Regions from separate parts of the Homo sapiens genome. Here region 2 is linked to region 1. Evidence: promoter capture Hi-C in human tissues and cell types (Jung and others, 2019). All regions are on one chromosome and are shown on one strand. The core of a region is centred on a gene start or on the middle of the fragment in contact, and the rest is flanking DNA. Distances in the headings are between cores, read along the strand shown. Region 1 holds the start of PLCH1 (phospholipase C eta 1). Region 2 has its middle 300 kb from the start of GPR149.

The links. Contacts are between HindIII fragments. The study calls those that stand out against the background at their distance.
Region 2: a contact is called between a fragment that was not itself captured here and the fragment with the promoter of PLCH1 in region 1, in 1 of the 25 tissues and cell types used here (mesenchymal stem cells).

The regions. Positions count from the first base shown.
Region 1 is chr3:155,743,577-155,748,683 of GRCh38, forward strand. PLCH1 (phospholipase C eta 1) reads right to left here and starts at 1,495. Exons shown (of 23, transcript NM_014996.4): 1 at 1,264-1,495. RefSeq lists enhancers at 732-1,353, 1,248-1,457. The HindIII fragment of the contact is 7,162 bases long and covers 1-2,753 here.
Region 2 is chr3:154,730,710-154,735,816 of GRCh38, forward strand. No RefSeq gene overlaps it. Among named protein-coding and RNA genes, the nearest start is that of GPR149, 300 kb to the left of the region's middle. The HindIII fragment of the contact is 5,824 bases long and covers 1-4,937 here.

The sequences.
Region 1 (5,107 bases), core at 245-2,744:
GCTTCTGTTAAGGCTTCTTGAAGCATTCTCTGCAGAAGACTTTAACCCCAAAGGTGACCAAAACGCTGAGGCAACTGAAAAAAACTACCGCCTCTTCTGGGAAATCCTTTGTTTCTTTTCATTGGCATTATACTCTGGTCCCTTTTGCAGAGCATCTCCTTGTCATAAACATGCCAATAAACAGGACATGGGTGCTGCTGGGTTGTACAAGCTCTGCTCTTCACCTGGGTTAGGAGGCACAGATTTGTTCTTGTAACGCTCGAGAACAATCACTTCACTGAATTTTCTAACTCCTTACCAGGAAGTAAATGTTTTATTCGTCTCCCCTTTTCGGGACAGAGGGGGATTTCAATTGCTGCCCTAATAACTAATCTCTCACCATTTTCTTCTGTCCGTGATCAAAACGGTAACAAGGGAAGGGAAAAGTTGGGTTTTTTTTTTTAATTTAGTTGGTTATTGCTTTAATGCTGAACTCTCAACGTCAAAATGTGATCACAAATTGATTCGCAGAAGGAAACAAATAGAAAAAGCCTCGGGAAGGAGGGGAGAGGGCGTCGCAGACGCTCAACAGGGAACTGGGTTTAGGGGCTCGCGGGGTGGCGTCTCGGACCCGCAGCTCAGTCGCCAAGGAAACGCCGCGCAGGCGCAGAGCGTGCCGCCGCGGGGCCGGGGTTTGCCTCCACCACCCCGCGCCGCTCGGGCGCTCTTGGTTCTTCCCAGGAAAGGGCAATGGAGTATATCCTCCTCGCGCTGAGCACACCTAGTCTCTAAGAGGTCCTGAGCAGGGTCACCGGGCGCAGGAAAAGCTGTGAGACTCCCCAAGTGTAACGGACGCTGCACTCCCCTTGCTGGGAAACGCGGACCTGCTCTCCTGGCGGCGTCTGGCGGTCAGAGAGAGGGTCCCGGGACCCCGCGTGAGGGTGAAGCATCCTGCAGCGAGGCTGGACCTTCCACCGGGCGAAACGCCACCCACCACCACCGCAAGGGACCCGAGAGTTACATTATTTCGCGGACACACACACCCACCCTCATCCTTCTGAATTATGGGACCCTGAAGAGCGGCCGTGGCCAGTTCCCCGCACGGGGCCTTAGGGGATCCCCACGCACAGCACTCACAGTCCTAAACAGGCGTGTGCCGGCTGTGGCTGCCGAGAAAGGAACTTGGGCCACCTGCTCACTCGCTCATCGGACTGGCGTACCAGTTCTCTTTTTCCTGCACACCCCCTTCTCTCCTGGGCCCCTTCTTCCCCCGAAAGCACTGACCTCCTCAGCTTTGAGTGTTCAGTAGCTGAAGGACTCCTCGGAGTCCGTGGCACAAGGAGCCACCTCCGAAGTGCTGGGGTGATGAGTTATTGGCCCCTGTGACTCCAACTCCAAACCCCTGCCAAGGGCCAGAAAAGCCCCCCTAGAAGAGCACTTCTCCCCACTAGCCAGCAGAAGCCCCAGACGAGCGGGGAAGAGCAGGGCGCCGCCGCCACAACCTGCTTTCTCATTCAAATCCTCACGCTCACACAGGAGCCCCCCTCCCTCTCGGCCCCGCAGCTTCCGAGGAAATCAGGAACTGGAGTTGCGGAGAGCGGACTGGAGCGCCTGCTGCCTCCTCTGGCCCGGGCGGGATGGGTGTACGGAACCCTAGGGCTGCACGTGGAACCCCAAGGCTGCACCTGGAACCCTTGGCTTACACTCTCCTGCGGGGCTCCCCGCTTGGCAAGGGCCAGAAGCACTGGGAATGAAGTACTTTTACTCCCCCGCAAGTTTCAAAAGTTTCGAAACCCAGGGTAACCCCTCGGGGCTGTAGCCAGAGGGCCTCGGTGGTGGGGGGTAAAGGAGTTGGAGAAACAAAGTTGGAAGTGAAGGGCGCAGGGAATGGGAACTGCGTGCAACTTGCACCAAAGTGAAAAGTGTTCTCAAACGTCCGTCTTACCTCCTTTAAAAAAAAAAAATTTCTAAGAATATAGCATCTGTCGATGCCGCAAATTAAAGAGATCTACTCTGAGTGAATGGGAACTGCGTGCAACTTGCACCAAAGTAAAAAGTGTTCTCAAACGCCCGTCTTACCTCCTTTAAAAAAAAAAAATTTCTAAGAATATAGCATCTGTCGATGCCGCAAATTAAAGAGATCTACTCTGAGTGAAGTGCAACTAAAATTGAGAGCGTGTAAATGGTAACACTTTGCTTTTATTTACCCCCAGTCTCTTCATTTGGAAATGCTACTCCTTGGCATTAACAGGCCACTTATTCACTTAGATCCGTTTAGTGGCTGGTTGACTCAAGCGGGCAACCTGCCGGGAGTAAGAAGGCGGCGGTGGCAGAGGAAAGCTTGCACGAAGCAGGCACTCAAGTGTTGATGAAACGATGAAATCTACTGAATGCACTGAAAGGATGAGTGACCAGCTTGGGGCGGATGCTGGAACCGCCGCTGGCCTAGACGGCCGCGGTGTGATCCGGCTTCTGGATTCCAGGATTTACATTTATCAGCCTTCATTCAACCTGCCCTATTGTTAGTTCAAAGCCTGGCTGGGAAGGAGTGGGGACGCAGCTCTTCACTCACCTTTCAGTTTAAAATAATCCTCCAATAAGAATGTCCTAGGAAAGCTGGCAGCATGGGGTTGGCAGGGATTTTCTGGGCTTAGTGACAACATAAACTAAAGTCATTTTCTTTTTTCATGCGTGAATTTGCCCAGGAAGTTACAAACGAGTAAGTTACAAATGAGTGCCTGAGATTGGAGCTCAGGGCCTTGGCTGCCTGTTCTCTTTGACAGACAGTGTGGAGGGTGGTAGCACTGTGACCTCTCAGCGCAAGATCTAGGGTTTCACCTTTTCATCCCACTTAGCCGATACCATAGAAACAACCCATTTGTATTATTCAATTCAACAGAGGCAATTACAATGTCACAGCAAAGCACCATGGGCAAGAAGAAACTTTGTCCTGAAAACAATCCTAGACTCTCAGAAAAAAGAAAAAAGCCACCAGAATACCCACTTGAATTTCTTCCTGCCAATAGTACCAGGAAGAAATCAATTTGGAAAAAATGTAGGTAAGGTCCTTTGCCTCTATAGAAAGAAACCTCCCCAAATTTACTTGTTTTTGTTTTTGTTTTTTTGCATGCCCATACACAAGCCTCAATTTATAAGAAATTAAGTCATTAACCCTCTGCCTCCAAACTGCTTTATATTTTGTAAACAAGCTTGTTGGAGATTTGTTTTGCTGGTAACCTCCATGGTGAATAGAAAAGCCAAAAAAAAAAAAAAAAAAAAAAAAACCACCAAGATAATCCCTCAACAGCAGCAGTTCACCCCCTAACCTCCGGTGTTTGTCTTTCTTGAGTCTGAAAAAATGCAGATGCACATGTTGAAATAAACTCAGACACAAAGTTCATAATAAGAGCACTTGTTTGCTATGCATTCTTTATTTTGATAGTTTTAATCAACTCCCATAATTTTGTAAACTTTTAAATTTTTAAATTGTGTGATATTTCAAACCTACCAAAAACAGGATATATACCATGTAATACTCCTGCTCCCCCCAGCCCTTCTTTTTTAAATAAAGCATTACAGATATAGCTAAACCCCAACTCCTGACTCGTTACCCCCACCCCTTCCCAAAGGTAATAATTCTGAAGTTGGTATGAATCATAATTATGCATGTTCTTAAATGTTTAGGACATTTATACATCCATAATCTTTTAATGTAGCTTTTCTCTCCAAGTCGTTTTAACATTATTTATCTGAGAAAAATCACTAAAACAATTAATTAATTAATTGGAGAAAATCACTAAAAACAAGAAAATGTGTTACATTGCTAAGTTTTTAGAAGCAGGACAGAACTATTTTTCCTGCTTGTGACAATCAGAGTATGGAATAATAACAAAGGGATTAGACAGTGGGTAATAAGCAGCCTCTCTAGGTTACACAAACTCTTCCATGGTTACCAAAGAATAAATAGAAAAACAAAACAAATAATACCCTCCTCTTTCACTGGTTAAAGGGGAACTGGAGAAAATGAGATCTTCATTAAAACTTCTTTGGGCAGGTAAGACAAACATCCTACATGGTAGTAAAGTACCTTTTCTAGAGGATCTCTTGGTCATGCAAGCTATGATCTTTTAGTAAGGATTTACCACTTTTCCAAGTATAAAGAACTCCTGCTGGTAGCTCAATACAAGGTTGAAATCCGCCTGGCTGAAAAGTCTGGGGTTGAATTAGCCCTGCCTCTTCAAGCACAGGGACATCCATCTGTACAGTAGTTACAAAAATCTTTTGCTGTGATTCTTTGACTTAATGTCCTCCCAGCATTAAAAGTGCTAAGAAAGCATCAATTTTTCTTAAATGCCATTGAATGGTGAAAGGCATCCTTCCCAACCCCCACCCTCTTCATTTCCTAAGCGATGACTCTCATTAATTATACTGGCACACCACTGCCCAGCCTCCCTTCTAAATAGCTGCCAGATTTCTACATATCATCTCTGCCTTGATACAGAATGTGCACTGACACCAGGATCACAGAAAATCCTGTAAGAGGTGCCTGATACACAGTAAAATGATTGATGTGCCTTGTGGTGAGCCTGCTGTGCTGCGTATCGTAGGGGGTTTCTTAGAAAACTGCACTGGGAATTTCTGTGTTGGAAAAAGATTTTTCTAGCTGTGCAAAAATTGTGCTTCCAGTTGCAAAAAGAGCCATTTATTTAAGGTGTTCAAATTTAAACAGCAACCATCTTGAGTTATATCCACGAGCAAGAGAGGAAAGGAGATAAATGTTCCCTATTTTAATCAATGCACCAAGTTAAGAAAACCATTGACCAAAAAAGCGTATCAAGGAAGAGGCACTCCTCTTTCAACACATATTTCTTTAGTACTTGCCATGTACCAGGCACTGCTCTAGGTGGTAAGCCTTAGCTGGAATATAGATAGCACTCCTGAAGTAGAGCGTAGTACCTGTCTTTATGGCCCTACTCTACAAATTGGTCACGGCTTTTAGGTACAAATAACAAAACCCCTTATCAAACCAGCTTGAGTAAAAAAAGCTGATGTATTGACTCCCACTTTAAGATAGGGGGAAGGATAAGGACTTCAGAAACGGTGGGAGTCTAGCAATTCAGAATCAGCA
Region 2 (5,107 bases), core at 776-3,275, 1.0 Mb before region 1:
AATGAACAAATTCCTTCTAAGACTTTTAATCAAAATATCTTCAATGAATATGAGTATGTGTCATAGTAAAGAATATGAGTATGTGTCATAGTAAAGTTGTTATTGAATTGCACATGTACATTTAAGATATTTACTATAACGTGGCTGGTCTATTTTCAAATAGCAACAAAAGCAAGATACAGAAAATGATGATTCATTATTCTGCCAAAGTCCTAGAGTGCTGAAATTTGCAGCCTTAGATTTAAAAAAGCAATATTCTCAGGCATTCTGTAAATACTCAGTGAGCTGAAAATGGGCCCAATTTCTTCCACACTTCCAATAGTCTGTTATCTTACTCAGATTTTATATAGCAAAAAAAAAAAAAAGGGTGGGGGGTGACTCTGCTACTGTGGAAAGCAGCTTGGAGATTTCTCAAAGAACTTAAAAAGATAACTACCATTTGACCCAGTAACCCTATTACTGGATGTATATCCAAAAGAAAACAAATTGTTCTAACAAAGAAACACATACACTCACATGTTCATCACAGCATTATTCACAATAACAAGGACATGGAATCAACCTAGGTGCATCAATGGTGGGTTGGATAAAGAAAGAGTGGTATACATACACCATGGAATACTACACAGCCATAAAAAAGAATGAAATCATGTCCTTTGAAGCAACATGGAAAGAGCTGAAGGCCATTATCCTAAGTGAATTAACACAGAAACAGAAAACCACATACTACATGTTCTCACCTATAAATGGAGCCTAATATTGGGTACTCATGGACATAAAGAGAACAATAGAAGCAGGAACTACTAGAAAAGGGAAGGAGGAATGGGGATAGGGTTGAAAAACTCATTATTGGGTCACAGGATCATTTGTACCCCAAAACTCAGCATCACACAGTTACCCAGCTAACAAACCTGCACATGTACCCTCCGAATCTGAAATAAAAATTGGAAAAAATATGGCTTTACAAAAGTACACCTAGATAGGAAGAATAAGTTCTAGCATTGAATAGCACTATGGGGTGACTGTAATTAACAAAAATTAATTGTGTATTTTCAACTAGCTAGAAGAATAGATTTTGAACATTCCCAACACAAGGAAATAATACATGCTTGAGGTGATGAATATACTAATTACCCTGATTTGAGATCGTTACATATTGTATACCTGTGTCAAAATAGCACACTGAACCTTGTAAATATGTATAATTATGTGTCAATTGAAAATAATAAAAGCAAAAAAAAGTAAGCCAAAAGTGACTTTAGGTTAGTTAACATTTCATCAACTTTTCTATACTAACAAATCTAAAAATGTAAAATAAAAAATACATACATTTAGTCATCAAATTACTTTGTCTCTTGTTTCTTTTCTAGGTAGGAATAGGAATGCCAAAAAGAGAAAAAAAATGATTAGTTTTCTTTTTATTATTTGGGTCCCTATAGAAATGAATAATTTAAATAACTATTGTGATACTGTGCTTATTAAATGAGCCAGCTGACTCATTTCTTGATGAAATGAAAAGAAGAAGACAGAAGCTGCTTCTTTTCCATTTCATCCATACCTCTCATCTCAGCCTTTCATGATTTCATGCCAGAGACAACTGCTTTAGCTTTTAGGATATCACTCTTCACTTCTCCCCTCTCTAATTTCTCCATTACTACATTATTCCCATTGTGTCACTTAGCAACAAACACCTGCAATAATAATACCTGCCATGACCTAAAAGATGGAAATGTAACTGTTTTTGGCATTTTAAATGTACAGCTAATTTTTCAATACTGTCTACCATGGCCATCTTCCTTAAATCCATCAGAATTAAATGTCTGCCGAACTCCACATTCATTCCTGATTTGTGCAATATTACTCATAAACATCTCACCTAGAATGCTTTCTCTCTGCTTATCTCATCTTAGCTATTTCTTATCCTCCTTCCTCTGGCTGATCAGATTCTCTCTTCCTGACAAAACCTTTCCTCAAAGTTCAATCCAAAGTGATTTTTCCATAGTGAATTTCATTGGTCTGTTTTCCTCTTTAGGTAATCCATCATATTCTGTATTATGATATTTAAGAGATTAGGGAATTTTATTCACCTGAATTTCAGAAGAGCTGTTCTTCTTACAATAAGTGATCAGAGCAGGGAAATGAAAGCACATCTATGTGGACTCTGTTGGTGGGGAAGGGTGAGAAACTGAGTGTGAGGAGCAGAGGACAAGAGGCAGAGCAGGAGAGTGACATGGTTTGGCTGTGTCCCCACCCAAATCTCATCTTGAATTGTAGCTCCCATAATTCCCATGCATTGTGGGAAGGACCCAGTGGGTGATAATTGAATCACGGGGGCAGTTTTCCCCATACTTTTATGGTAGTGAATAAGTCTCACGAGTTCTGATGGTTTTTATAAGGGGAAATCCGTTTTGCTTGATTCTGATTCTCTTTTTGCCTGCTGCCATGGAAGACGTGCCTTTCACCTTTTGCCATGATTGTGAGGTCTCCCCAGCCACATGGAATTGTGAGTCCACTAAACCTCTTTTTCTTTATAAATTACCCAGTCTCCAGTATGTCTTTATCAGCAGCATAAAAAACAGACTAATACACAGGGGATGAGGGAAACGTGCTGATGAGGGGACTTCATGGATAGAGAGGAGAGCTGCCATGAAAGTGAAGTACTAGAGAGAATTAAACCATAAGAAGATATTTAGAATATTGTGTTGAGAAAAGCAGTATGTTATCTAATTTTCTATACTATTTCTAGAAGAAAGACTACTAGAAGGGTATTATTTTTCAAGGTTAGCAAAATGAAATATGAGGTGTTTTGAATACACTGAGACTAGACACAAAAAGATGTAGGTTTATAAATAAGACATAAGATGTATTGGTAACCTTTAAATTTTTTATTTGAAGGAATATTTAAATATTTTTATGAGTTTATGATGTCATTCTTATTTACACTCTTGAGAGGAGAAAATGTATATATTTTGTTATCTTAGAATATGTCATCTACAGAATAGGACTAATAATATAAGTTTTTCTTGAGTGCTTCTGTGGAGAGTCCAGAAAACTTTTTTGAATAAAAGGTTTCTCAATGTCAAAGTTACTTCAGAAATAGAGTTTTGTTATGCAAATTTTAAAAATATACTTAATGACTCAAGGAGATGTCAACCTACCACTTTTGACTCAAGGAGATGTCAACCTACCACTTTTTTTTTTTTTTTTGAGTCATGCTCTGTCGCCCAGGCTGGAGTGCAGAGGCCCGATTTCGGCTCACTGCAACTTCCGTCTCCCAGGTTCAAACGATTCTCCTGCCTCAGCCTCCTAAGTAGCTGGGATTACAGGCGCACACCACCACGCCCTGCTAATTTTTGTATTTTTAGTAGAGACGGGGTTTCATCATGCTGGTCAGGCTTGTCTCGGACTCCTGACCTTGTGATCCGCCCACATTGGCCTCCCAAAGTGCTGTGGTTACAGGCATGAGCCACCGCGCCGGCCTCAACCTAACACTTTTAATTGCATGTGCATGTGTGTGTGTGTGTGTGTGTGTGTGTGTGTGTTTTCCTGGCCTTAAAGCTTAAGGGACAGCTTAGTTAAAATATCCAAAAAAGAATTAGGAAGCATATAATCTGCTCCTTTAGAAGAAGAGTTAGAATAAAGAGAGGCGGTAGTTGATAACATCAATTATGAGTTCCTTATGACATTTTTATTTTAATTCCCTTATTCAAATACCAATGCTTCTGGAGTCTATTCTGAACACATTGTGCCTAAGATGGAAGAATCTTCCCCCAAAAATGCAACTAGAGCATCAAGATCCATTTTTATGACTGAAAGCCAGACAGTGGAGTACAGTGGGTAGTTTCCTATGGTGGGTAATTTTGTGTAAGAAAAATAAAAATTTTTCCATCTTCTTTTGTTAATGAAACAGTGAGTCATGGTCTAGGAGTCTGAGGAATAGAAAGAAGTGGGAAGAACCAGAATCTATTCCTGGACCCGCCCCTGATTCATGGAGTATATTTGGACAAATCTCTAAATACTTCTCTGTTTTAGCATTGTTAGAACATTGATTTATTAATTCACTCATTCATGCATGCAACATTAGTGAGTAACTGTAAGGTGCCCACATATGAAGATGAAAAGCCATAGTTCCTGAAACACACAGTCTGGGAAGAGTCAGATATGTAAACAAGTCATTACAATTCCTTGTGATAGGAATATAATACATATCCTCAAGGTACCGTGATGGGACAAAGATGTATGTTGACTAGGACATGCTAGGGTGGGGTTCAGAGAAGAAGAAACACCTAGGTGGGTCTTGAAAAGTAGGTTAAAGTTTATTAGAAGGGTTTGGGAAAAGAGGATTCCAAGTACAGGCAACAATATATGCAAATACATGGAAACATAACAGAACATTGCGGAGGGTACTGTAAATAGTTTAATATTAAAGCATAAGGGGGGTGGGCGGAGGCAATGGAGGATGAAATTGGGGAGAGAAAACAGTGCCAAATATTGGAGGACCTTATATGCTATGCAAAGAGTTTGGTTGAATGCTTTAATCACGATAATAATATAATCTTATTTCTGTTTTTCAGGAAGATTGCTGGTCATATGACAGCTAGATGGCAAGGTGCAGCTAGAGTTAGGCAAGCCATTTAGAAGTAAATTGCAATAATCCAGGCAGATGATGATAAGACCCTGCATCAGAACAATGGGAACGAAGAGGCTGAAGCAGATACTAATGATGTTAAGGAAGTAAAATGTAAAAGAAATCTGTAGAACCATTAGAAATGGAAGGAATAAGGGGAATCTGGGAGAATACCTCCCAGATTTCTTGCTCAGTTGACAGGTTACTCGCTTATGTCATTAATTTATTACTAGAAGAAAGATAATTAATAATATTTATGTGTGTTGAACTTTAGGTGGGTAAGCAAAAAAATGTCTTCGGAAATTTCATTTTTATTTCTCAATAGAATTTTCTTTTTCTTAAATTATACTTTAAGTTCTGGGGTACATGTGCAGAACGTGCAGGTTTGTTACATAGGTTTACACATGCCATGGTGGTTTGCTGCACCCATTAATCCGTTCTACATTAGGTATTTCTCCTAATGCTATCCCTCCCCTACCC